Regions from separate parts of the Homo sapiens genome. Here region 1 is linked to region 2. The links are contacts of gene promoters, found by promoter capture Hi-C in human tissues and cell types (Jung and others, 2019). All regions are on one chromosome and are shown on one strand. Each heading gives the region's core, a stretch centred on a gene start or on the middle of the fragment in contact. The rest is flanking DNA. Distances are from core to core; before and after follow the strand shown.

Region 1 (6,196 bases), core at 2,726-5,225, 240 kb after region 2:
GGATAACCACGGTCTAGAACTCCAGTTGGAAATTAAGCCTCCAGAGTCTTCTCATTACCATATCGGGAATGTGGAAAATCAATCAAATGAATGGAAATAGCAAAGGGATTCCAGAAATATTTTGGACATCGGTGCTCACTATATAATAAACAAGAAGCAATGCAATGTTGAGAGGAAGCTGTAATCATAATTACTAATAAATGCTATTAGGCGAATTATTACAGTGTGGAAAATAAGTAACAGATTCCTACCTCACACTGTGCACTGCAAAGCATTCCAGAAGGGTAAAAGAGCTAAGATTTTAAAGTAAAACAAACAAGAAAACCAGAATATCATACTGTCCTAGCTCTAGGAAGCTACAGTAGACAGCTTTTCAGTGTATCTTCCCAACTTGCAATGATTCCTTCTTCTTTGGAAACTGGCATCCACCCCTCAAGCCATAGGGGTGAGTCTTGAGGAGCCATATTTATCCTCTAAGGCCTGGTCCCCTAGGCATAGCTGATTGGATCCAGCTCAGGCACTCTATTCGTTTCCTAGGGCTCCCATCACAAAGTACCACAAAAATAGATCGCTTAAAACAACAGATAATTATTGTTTCACAGTTTTGGAGGCCGGAAGTCTGAAATCAAGGTGTTGACCAGGCCATGCTCCCCGGAAGCCTCCAGGGGAGGATCCTTCCTTGTCCTTTCCAGCTTCTGGTAGCTGGGTATTCCTTGGCTTGCGGCAGTATAAATGCAGACTCTGCCTCCCTCTTCATCTTCCCTCTGTGTCTGTGTCCCAATTTTCCTCTTCTCATAAGGATGCCAGTCACATTGGATCAAGGCCCACTGTACTCCAGTATCCTCATCTTTTTTTTTTTTTTTTTTTTTTGAGACAAAGTCTTGCTCTGTCACCCAGGCTGGAGTGTAGTGTCACGATCTTGGCTCACTGCAACCTCCACCTCCTGGGTTCAAGTGATTCTCCTGCCTCAGTCTCCCTAGTAGCTGGGATTACAGGCACGCACTTCCACGCCCTGCTAATTTTTGTATTTTTAGTAGAGTCAGGGTTTCACCATGTTGGTCAGGATGGTCTTGAACTTCTGACCTCAGGTGATCTGACCATCTCAGCCTCCCAAAATGCTGGGATTACAAGCGTGAGCCACCACGCGCCTGGCCTCCAGTATCATCATCTTAATTAATTACTTCTGCAATGACCCTATCTCCAAATAAGGTCCCAATCTGAGGTGCAGGGGTCTAGGGCTTCAACATATCTTTTTTAAGAAGTCAAAATTCAACCCACAACAGGCACCTAACCCAAACAGTAACAAACAGAGTTATTTCCCTGGGACTTGGGAATTGAGAATGAGGTTCTAGTCACAGCCTGGGCTGGTCTCATGAAGAAAGAGAAGGCAAAGGGAGGCTGAGGTACCAGCCCTCTTATGCTCCAGGGACTGATTATGGAGAAAGTCTATTCCCAGAAACAAGAGAAGGAAGGAGTGGAGTGCGGTGAGGAGGAAGAAGAGGAGTCCTCCTAGAAGCGCCTTTCCTCTATAATCCCAGAACCTTTCTGCAGCGGCACTGCTTTCCAGCCGTGGCTTCCCTATCTGCTTACAGTAAAGCCTGTTTTGTTTGCTTAGGGAAGCTCAACTAGTTTCTCTTGCTCGCAAGCAGAGTTAATAGAAAAACTAGAATCAGAGTAAGATGCTGTATTAGTACTCTTTTGCTGCTGTAACAACTTTCCACAAACTCAGCGCTCAAAACAACACAAATTTGGCCGGGTGCGGTGGCTCATGCCTGTAATCCTAGCACTTTGGGAGGCCAAGGTGGGTGGATCACCTAAGGTCAGGAGTTTGAGACCAGCCTGGCCAACATGGCGAAACCCTGTCTCTACTAAAAGTATAAAAGTTAGCTAGGTGTGGTGGCACATGTCTGTAATCCCAGCTACTTGGGAGGCTGAGACAGAATCACTTGAACGCAGGAGGCAGAGGTTGCAGTGAGCCAAGATCATGCCACTACACTCCAGCCTGGCCGACAGAGTGAGACTGCATCTCAAAAAAAAAAAAAAAAAAAAAAAGCAACACAAATTTTTTATCTTACGTTCTGTTGGTCAGAAGTGTGCTATGAGTCTCACTGGGTTAAAACCAAGGCATCAGCAGGGTTGCATTCCTTGCTGGAGATTCCAGGGACAATACATTTCTTTGTCTTTTCCTCCTTCTTGAGGCTACCTGCTTTCCTTGGTTGGCGGCCCCATCCTCCATCTTCCAAGCCTGCAAGGGCAGGGCAGGTACTTCTCACACTACTGTCTCTCTGCGGCCAGGAAAGATTCTTCACTCCTGTGATTAGGTTGGGCCCATCTGCATAATCTAAGATACTTTCCCCATCTCGAGGAATGTAACCTTAATCACACCATTTGCAAAGTCCCTTTTGCCATATGAGGTAATATATTCACAGGTCCTGGGGATTAGGATATGGATATCTTGAGGGCATATTATTTTGCCAACCACAGATGCACAATAGACTATATTATGACCATTTGTAGTAAGATAGATGACCAAGCATTTCTTTGTACTGTTTCTTTTTCTTTTTTTTGAGACGGAGTCTCACTCTGTCACCAGGCTGGAGTGCAGTGGCACAATCTCCACTTACGCAACCTCTGCCTCCTGGGTTCAAGTGATTCTCCTGCCTCAGCCTCCCAAGTAGCTGGGACTACAGGAACATGCCACCACGCCCAACTAATTTTTGTATTTTTAGTAGAGACGGGATTTCACCATGTTGGCCAGGATGGTCTCAATCTCTTGACCTTGTGTTCTGCCTGCCTCGGCCTCCCAAAGTGCTGGGATTACAGGTGTGAGCCACTGGTACTGTTTCTTTTTCTTACAAAATTGCTTAATTTCAACAATTCAGGCTGAAGCTCTTTTTGAGGAACATAGGGTCAATTCAGTGACATTCAAGGACCTTTATTTAGCTGCCTTCTCATAGCAGACGTTTTAACTCTCCCAGAAAGACTTCAAATGAGTACATACTCCCAAAGGCCTCATTGGAGCCAGGGAAGAATAAACAGAATTGGGTGAAATATGTATTTCCCACTAAAGAATTTCATTTACAGCTGGGCATGGTGGGTCATACCTATAATCCCAGCAATTTGGGAGGCTGAAGTTGGAGGGTCACTTGAGCCTGAGAGTTCAAGACTAGCCTGGGCAACACAGGGAGACCCCATCTCTACAAGAAAAAAATAAAAAATTTAGCCAGGCACGATGGTATGTACCTGTGGTCCCAGCTAGATGGGAGGCTGAGGTGGAAGGACCACTTGAGCCCAGGAGGTCAAGGAGGCTGTAGTGAGCCATGTTTGTGTGCTACTGCACTCCAGCCTGGGCGTCAGAGACAGTCTGTCTCCAAAAAAAAGAAAAAAAAAATGCCTTTATGAAAATGTAATTACCAGAAAAAGGCTATTTGAAAAAATGTGGTGGCCAGACACAGTGGCTCACACCTATAATCCCAGCACTTTAGGGAGCAAAGACGGGAGGATGACTTGAGCCCAGGAGTTTGAGACTAGCCTGGGTAATATAGGAAGACCCCCTTTCTGCAAAAAAGTTTTAAAAATTAGGTGAGCCTAGTGGCAAGCACCTGTAGTCCCAGCTACTGAAGAGGCTGAGGCAAAAGAATTCCTTGAGCCCAGGAGGTTGAGGCTGCAGTGACCCATGGTTGCACCACTGCACTCCAGTCTGGGTGGCAGAGGAAGACCCTATCAAAAAAAAAAAAAAAAAAAAAAAGGAAGGAAAGAGGGAAGGGAAGGTGAGAGGAGAGGAGGGGAGGGAAGGGGAGCGGAGAGGAGGGGAGGGGAGGGGAGGGGAGGGAAAAGGGAAAGAAGGAAGGAAAGAAAGAGAAAGAAAGAAAGAGAAAGAAATGTGAAATCTCCTCTGAACTGAGAGTCTGGGGTGAATACCTTAATAAAAGTAATGTTTCTGGCAGGGGGCTATAAGGTTAATTTTTGTATAGATACAATAAATGAAATAGACACCTGTAGGAAGCCAGGTACACCCACACATTCACTCAACAAATGCAGTGTGCCAGGTGCCATTCTAGCACCAGGGAGAGAACATAACAAATGCTTGCCCCTCCTAAGTTTACATTCTACTGGAGGAGACAGATGTATGCAAATATATGTTATAGCTTATCCATTACATATACTATAAAGTCAGATACAGGCTATGAAGATATAGACAATGAAGAAAAATAAAGCAAGTTGAGAGGATAGAGAGTGATGGAGGGAGTGCAATTTTTTATGAGACATTTTTTGTTTTTTGTTTTTTTTAGAGACATGGTCTTGGTCTTGCTGTGTTTCTTAGGCTGACTTCAAACTCCTGGGCTCAAGCACTCCTCCTGCCTCAGCTTCATGAGGTGCTGGGACTACAAGGCACTTTTTTAAAAAAGTTTAATTTTTTTTTTGTTGTTAAATAATTACAGACTCACAGAAGGTTGCAAAGAAATGCAAGGGAAGTCCCATGCTCTTTTTCCCAACCTCACCCAGTGTTAACATCTTCTACAATTACAGTATGATACATTATCAGAACCAAGGAATTGACACTGCTACAATGTATAGAACTTATTTGGATTTCAGTAATCATACATGCACTTATTTGCATATGTGTGCATGGCTCTATGTAATTTTATCACATGTAGTTTTGTGTAATCACCACTACAATCAAGGTATACTCAACTGGAGTATATGTGAATTACATCTCCATGAAACTGCTACAAAAAAATGCTCAACTGTGCCATCATCACAAGACACATTGGTGTTACCCCTTCATAGCCACACCCATTCCTCCCCACCGTCACTAACCTCCGGCAACCACCAATCTGTTCTCCACCCCTATAATTATGTTATTTCATGAATGTTACAGAAATGGAATCATGCAGTAGTTATCCTTTTGAGACTGGCTTTTTTCACTCAGCATAATTTCTTTGAGCGCCATCCGAGTTGTTGCGTGTATCAATAGTTTGTTCTTTTCTATTTCTGAGTATTATTCCATGGTATGGATAAACTACAGTTTGTTTAACCACTCACCCATTAAAGGACATTTGGTTGGTTTCCAGTTTTGAGCTATTACAAATAAAACTGCCACGACCATTTGTGTACAAGTTCCTGCGTGAAAATAAGCCTTCATTTCTCTTGGAGAGATGCCCAGGAATGTGACTGCTGGGTCGTATGGTATATATGTTTTTTCCAGAAACTGACAAATTGTTTTCCAGAGTGGCTCTATCATTTTATGTTCCCCAGCACTATACGAATGACTCAGTTTCTCCGCAGCATTGCCAGCATTTGGTGTTCATCACTACTTTTTTTTTTTTTTTTTTTTAGACACAGTCTCACTCTGTCGCTTAGGCTGGACTGCAGTGGTGTGATCTCGGCTCATTGCAACCTCCGCCTCCTGGGTTCAAGTGATTCTCCTGCCTCAGCCTCCTGAGTAGCTGGGACTGCAGGCATGTGCCACAATGCCCAGCTAATTTTTTGTATTTTCAGTAGAGACGGGGTTTCACCGTGTTAGCCAGGATGGTCTCGATCGATCTCCTGGCCTTGTGATCTGCCCGCCTTGGCCTCCCAAAGTGCTGGGATTACAGGCATGAGCCACCGCACCTGGCCCACAATTTTTTATTTTAGTCATTTTGATCAGCATGTGGTAATATCTCATTATGGTTTAATTTGCATTTCTCTAATGGCTAATGATACTGAACATCTTTTCATGGGTCTATTTGCCACCTATATATTCTCTTTGGTAAAATGCCTGTGCGTGTCTTTTTCCCGTTTTCTAATTGGATTGTTTGTTTTTTTAAGTACTGTTTTCAAGTTCTTTGCGTGTTCTAGATACAAGGCTTTTTTTGGACATGCAATTTACAAATATCTTCTCCCAGTATTTAATTTGTCTTTTTATTCTTTTAACAGTGTCTTTTGCAGAGCAAAAGTTTCAGATTCTGATGAGATACAATTTGTCAATTTTTCCTCTTCCGGTTTTGCTTTTTATTTTTTATTTTACTTTTATTTAACTTCTTTAGAGATAAGGTCTATGTTGCCCAGGCTGGAGTGCAGTGGCTGTTCACAGCTGCAATAATGGAGCACTGCAGCCTTGAACTCCTGAGCTCAAGTAATCCTCCTGCTTCAGCCTTCTGGTAGCTGGGACTACAGGTGTGCATCACTGTGCCTGGCTCTGGGTTGTGCT
Region 2 (6,442 bases), core at 1,288-3,787:
TCAGGTTCTTTCAGTTGAGGGAAGTCAGGATCTGAGCCAAGCTGAGCCCCTGCATAGCCTCTATCCCGGGAGCCCCATATCAATGCTGCCGGCTTGGTAACATCATCCCCCTTTTAGAGACGAGGAAATGAGATTTGAGGTCCTACTTAAGGCCACTTGGCTGGAATACAGCAAAGCCAGGTGCAAGCCCCTTCTCTGCACGCAGCCCGTGCTGCTTCTTGAGGTTCAGAGGCTCTAAGGAAGGGGCCTCACCTGAGCAAGATGGACAGTGGGAAGGGGGCAGAGGGCAGAATTCTAGGGTCTCACGGTCCCTCAGAATGGGTGAGGAGTATTTGATAACAAAAGAAGGCTCTTCTTAGCTATTGCTCCAGATACGACCAGCATAGAATATTTTTCTATTAAGCATAACTGACCTCCAGTGAAAAAGGTTCCCATTTTGTGGGGAGCCACTTTTGAAATAGCAATTTCATTTTATTATTATTATTTTGAGATAAGATCTCACTTCTACGCCCAGGCTGGAGTGCGGTGGTGTGCCTCCTGGGTTCAAGCAATTCTCCCACCTCAGCCTCCCAAGTAGGTGGAACTATAGGTGTGTGTCACCACGCCAGGCTAATTTTTGTATTTTTTGTAGAGACAAGGTTTTGCCATATTGCCCAGGCTGGTCTCGAACTCTTGGACTCAAGTGATCTGCCTGCCTTAGCCTCTCAAAGTGTTGGGATTACAAATGTGAGCCACCGTGCCTGGCCTAGCAATTTCATTTTTAAAGAAAGAAATATAAAACGATCTACCCATTCACATTTTCCCCATCCATACTTTAAATTTTAAAAATATGAAATAATGAAATACTCAGCAGATACAAATAATAAAATACTTATATATAATGATATTTCGACTTCATATTAGGGCTTCAAAGGTCAGGAAAGAGGGAGAGATACAGAAGAGAAAAAAAAAAAACGTTAACACATGAGTGTCTTTTTTTAACTTGTTAAAGGTAAAGTTCAACCCAGGAGAAGGGAGGGGAGGGAAGGTCAAAGTTCTGATTCATCAACAAATACTACTTTATTTGTTAAAAATACAAGGCTCTGCTTGGCGCAGTGGCTCCCGCCTGTAATCCCAGCACTTTGGGAGGCCAAGGCGGGTGGATCGCCTGAGGTCAGGAGCTCGAGACCAGCCTGGCCAACATGGTGAAACCCCGTCTCTACTTGGGAGGCTGAGGCAGGAGAATCGCTTGAACTGGGGAGGCAGAGGTTGCAGTGAGCTGAGATCGCACTGCTGCACTCCAGCCCGGGTGACAGAGCAAGACTCCATATCAAAAAATAAAATAAAATAAAATGAACAATGAAAAGACAGGAGGGAGGTTCCTGAGTAAGCTGATTCGAGTGGAAATCAGACATCAAAATTGAAACCCGCTGAATTTTCCAAAAAGCCAGATGCTCATAGAACTGAAGCTTGAGACACTTACATCAGTACACCTGCTGCCTGTTGACCAATTCCTCTTCCTTGTCCCTCCTGTTTTCCTTCCCTGCTATATAAGCCCCTAACTTTAGTCAAGGGGAGGGATGGATTGGAGGTTTGTCTCCCCTCTCAACAGCTCACTGGCTGATGTCACCGGAATAAAGTCTTCCCTGGCAATACTCGCTGTCTCAGTGATAGGCTTTCTGTGCGGTGAGCAGCCAGACCTGGACCAAACCCCTGGCAATCCATAACAAAATCATAAGCAAAATCAACCAGGAAGCTATTTGCACCCTGGAACCCCACCTGGGAGGGGAAGTCAAGGCAGACTTTCCAGAGAAGGCGATGCTGAAAATTTCAGAAACAGAAATTTTGAAGAGCAAGAGTTACCAAGCGAAGAACATTCCATGAGAAGGAACAGGAGGTGTGTGAAGGTGGAGGTTCTGGGGTGAGGTTCTTTATGGAATCGAAAACGGTTCAGAACCACAGGTCGACGGTCAAGGTAGTAGTGAGAGGAGGTGGGACAGGCGACCACGCCGCTGCCCCTGGGATGACTGGAAGGCGACTTAGGGGAGCTGGGGCGAGACAGGTGCAGGGTTTGAGGATGAGAAAGGCACAGAGTGACTAGAGGATTCCCGCCTGCAAGCACATCTGGAAGGGGTGTCTGGATCCTGGGGGCAGCGACTGTGTTCTAGGGCGAGAGCCACCCTCGCCAGGGGTGTAGGCAGGCGAGAGGAGGGCCTGGAGCTGTGGGTCGGCCACACTGCGCCCTCATTTGTGTGCAGCCCCGGAGGACCAGAGTGGGGAAGCACCCCACCCTCTCCCAGGGCCCAACTGAGCACTGCAGCGGGAGGTACGGGGTTGTCAAATGACAGTTTTGCCATTCCAGATTGCCAAAAGAGCCAGTGGCCAGTCTAGGGCACCGCGCCGTCTGGCATCTCCCTGGAGGCCCTGGGCCTGGCCCGAGGCTCAGCCCGGATCTGCAGTTGCCAGGTCAGTGCGGGGCCCGGAGTGGATTCGCGGGGCGGGGCGGGGCACTGCCCGCGCCCGGAGCTCAGCAGCAGCTGCCCAGGGGCGGGGGCGGCAAGACGCGGAAGTGCCCGGCAGGTTGGCGGACCGGCGGGAGGCGCAGCCTGGGCAGAGCTCAGCTTGGTCCCGCCGCCCGGCCGGTGCTCCCTGGCGCAGCCACGCAGGCGCACCGCAGACAGGTGGGTCCCGGCCGCCGCGCTCTCCTCTCTGCGTCCGCGCCCGGCGCGCCCCGAGGGTGGCGGGAGCGGTGCCGGCTACTGCCCCCAAGTCTAGGCCTAGACTGGGCCCCGCGCCCCCCAGGCACCTGCGGGCGGCGGGATGAAGACTGGAGTAGGGCGGGGTCCGCGTCCAGCTGCGCCTGGAAAGCGAGCTCGGGTGGGTGCCTACAGCAGGGTGCGCCCGGCCGGCCTGGGACTTCCAAAGCGCCTCCCACGCCCCGATCGGTTTGGGGTGCTGGCGCCCGGGGAGCCCAGTGACCCAGGCGGCGGAGTGGGCAGCGCTGCGGGGGGCGCCGGCTCTGCTGCTCTCCCTCCCCCTCGCCATCGCCCAGAATGGGGGTTCCCGGGAGCCCCGCTGGAGGCTGGCTTGGACCACAGAGGAGCGAGGCCCGATCCTTACTTTCGATGCACTCGCCCTTGCTCTTACCGGGCCACCCTCACCCTTTCGGAAAAGAGGTTGAGGTTAAAGCGTTCATCCCCCGGGATCTTCAGGCCAATGGCAGGAACTGTGCAAGAGTTTGGGGGAAGATGGTGTCAGGTAGAGGCTGCGTCCCTGGGCTCGCGGCCGGGAATGGCAGACTCTCGTCCCCCGAGCAGCGGAAAAGGATGGGGCGCAATAGTTCCTGGGCTGGTTTCCTCAGGTCCTGTCCCAGAACTTAAGAAGGCAACAATGAAGAGGCTAAACGTGGAGGAAAAGTGAGGCTAGCATGGCCGGGATGCGTGGGGAGATGGTTGTCTCCGGACCCCGGGAGGGGCGGGAGCGGGTACCTGGGAGCAGAGGCTGGAGTGGGGGACTTTCCCAGCCTCGCGGCCACGCTGAACACAGCAGGGCGAGGACCGGGGTGCTGCTCCTCCAGCAGCAGGAGGAGAGGTCCAGAGGCCGACTCTGGAGGTGGGGGTGGCTCCGCGGGCTGGCCCAGGGGGTGTGCCCCAGCGGAGCACGCGGGAGGGGTGGGGGCGGAGGGGAGGGGGGAGCAGGGGCGGAGGACTGGGCTGGGCCTGGGCTCCTCGAGGGCCCAGAATGGGGATAAGTGACCAGAACCAGAGAGGGCTCGGCTGTATCGATGTAGGAAACTGTAGCCCCTCAGGAGGCCCTCTGGCAAGACCTCCCCTTCCTGCCCCCACCCCCAGTAGTTATGGGGCCTGGGGTGCTGGGGCTGAGGGGTTCCAAGAGTCAAGGGAAGCACTGGGAAATCACCCCTTTTTATCTAAAGGCCCTACTTTGGGGTTTTTCCCCTGTACCCTGGTCTTCCCCTACCCTGACCCTGGGAGGAAGCTGAAAGAAGCTTCTTTCTGGGCACCTTTTGCCCCAGAGCCTCAGCCTGTCTGGACCAGGTGGGCAGCAGGGCCCAGGGTGTGGGCAGCTGACCCGGAGGGGTGGGATTTGGGGGTCAGGGCCTGTACAGGGAACCCCTTGTCCTCTCCCTGAGCTGGGTGTGGGTTTGCAAGGAGACATGTGACCCAGACCAACCCTGGGAGCAGCAGGGCGCCTGCTGTCTGGCCACTCTTACTAGGACTGCTGTGGCACTTCCTCCCCTAGTGGGTCCCTGGTGCCCATGAATTGCAGCTCCTGGGTGGTGGTGGGGGCACTGTCTCCTGGGACTCCAGCATGGCCCTGGGGTGAGCTGTGGGCTTACCCCACCTCAGCAGGTCCTCTAGGGCTGCCCACTGGATGCTTCGCTGCCTCACACAATTGTAGGGACTTCCTCAGGCTGTTGGATTTCCCCACCTTCCGGGGCTCAGGTCCATTGACTTAGGTCTAGGGCTCCATACATTTCACCCAGAGACTCCGGAGCCTGGCAGGCAGACCTGTTCTGACACCGAACTTCCAAAGTCATGGGCCTTGATTGGGGTGGTCTGAATTAGACCTAGCCCTTTTCTGGGCAGAAGGGAGCTTCTAGGAGGATGGATGCTGTTCGGGTTAGAGCTCGTGTGGACCTAGCTGCAGGCAAAAGCCTTGAGGCTGAGTCCCTTCTGTGGCATGGTGGACAGACTCTCGCTCATCACAGCCGGGCTTGTCACGGGAGCTCCTCCTCCACACCCCTCCCTAAGCTGCCTGTATGGACGCGGCCCTCTGACACTGAGGTCGGAGTTATCATTTCAAAACCTTGCTCTGTATTAAACAGCCGTGTTGGGCAGGGCCAGACTGCTGGACTGACAGTAGGGGGCAGGCAGCCGGACCCTCTGAGCTCCCCAACGGCACCAGCGCCTGCACGGCCTCAGCCCAGGGGGTCATTAGGGAAGCTCTCCCCGATTCTGTGCAGACAGAGCTTCCTCTGTCCACCCTTGCTCGGCCAGAATTGTGTGCCGCTGGTGACTGGCACCCCTCTATTCTAGGGCCAAGGCCTCTCAGGGGTCTACAGATACAACTATGGGTGGGTGCACACCCATGTTATAAACCACACTAAATGCACAAAAACTGTCTGCAAGTTTGGGGTGCGGGGAACAGCTCTGGGTGGGAGGTTGGAAATTTGGTCTGGGGGACCCACTCGGCTCCCTCCCTCAGCCCACAGTGAGTCTGGTTTCTGAGTTGTCCCGGTCTAGCCACTTTCGTTTCCCCTGGGGCCGGGTGGAGGCTGGGGCAGAAAGCGGAACTGAGCCCGCGTGTTCTGAGGCCAGGGCAGGGCTGGAGCGTTCTGAACACCTCCCCGTCCCAGCCCCTGGGCCAGGCAAGGGCCGGCCTTACCTCTCCTGGGTTGGTGGCAGCAGAGCTGGGCTCTGAGGGAGGCCTGCAATGTGAGACAGTAGCAGCTCAGAGGCGGCACTAGGCAGGTGCAACCCCAAAAGGTACTGGGCAGGGAATTTCAGGGGAAACTGAGGCTCCATGCTGCAAGGCCAAAGCAGGCCCAGACACAGGGAGTTCAGCTCGAACGTTTGCTCCTTACTTGCTGACCGACACATTCACTTCTGATGGGCTGTGCTGTGTAATGACCCAGTCCTTTCTGTCTTCCACCCAGGGGTCTCAAGTGAAGGGCCAAGGGCATGGGTAAGGGGAGGAGAGGGACAGAAGGGGACTCAGGACTGTGGAGAGTTTCCGGTTCTGGGCTGGAGAGGGAGTTGGGCAGGTGAAGGGGAGGAGGCAGGGTCCCTCTGGCCTGACTCCAGGGAGGCAGTGAAGCTGTGGCCTGGGAGGCGGGGCTCGTGCCCCTGGGTAGGTAGCAGTTAGAGCTGTGGCTTCTGTTTCCTGTAGCCTTCCTAACAGGCTCCGGCAGGCGTTAGGGCCTTCCTAAGTGCTACCCGAATGCGTGTCCAGTGGGAGGAGAAGGGGGAGGACCAAGAACCTAGATGAATGGCCCTAGAGAGGTAACATCTGTTTGGTGCCTGCTGTCATTGGAGGTGGGTTGAGTTGGTTGATGGGATTTCTCTAAAGATATTGAGAAACTGCTTTCCTCTGAGGGCAGGTGTCCTTGGGAGCTCCAGATGAGATTCTTGTTGAGGGCATCTCCGGAGGGAACTCTCAGGGGATGGAGGGTGAGAAAACTTGGGCAGGGAAGAATCGAACTAGGGGTGTAGACTGAGCAGGAGGCTGTCTTCGGGCTGATCCCACAGAGCGCTCGCTGTCCCAGGTAGCCAGCTTGAGACAAGACAGCCGGGCTTTTGGTGTCAGGCAGTCACTGGCTGTGGGCTGCCCCCCAAGAGCAAGGGGTGGGCCTAACCTGTGGTGTGAGTAGTGGAAGGCGGTTCTCTGGCCAACGGGCTGCTTGCTGCTGTTAGCAGTTGGAGAATGGATGCCTCTGCCCGGT

Evidence for each region. The method cuts DNA at HindIII sites, captures the fragments that hold promoters and counts their contacts. A contact is called where the count stands out against the background at its distance.
Region 1: a fragment that was not itself captured here is called in contact with the fragment with the promoter of IRF5 in region 2 in 1 of the 25 tissues and cell types used here (lymphoblastoid cells).

The regions. Positions count from the first base shown.
Region 1 is chr7:129,172,339-129,178,534 of GRCh38, forward strand. No RefSeq gene overlaps it. Among named protein-coding and RNA genes, the nearest start is that of SMO, 13 kb to the right of the region's middle. The HindIII fragment of the contact is 6,954 bases long and covers 499-6,196 here.
Region 2 is chr7:128,935,390-128,941,831 of GRCh38, forward strand. It overlaps IRF5 (interferon regulatory factor 5), which reads left to right and starts at 2,538. Exons shown (of 9, transcript NM_001098629.3): 1 at 2,538-2,660. RefSeq lists enhancers at 866-1,160, 2,828-3,411, 3,445-3,514, 5,005-5,234, 5,345-5,394 and a silencer at 2,405-3,164. The HindIII fragment of the contact is 4,364 bases long and covers 1-2,716 here.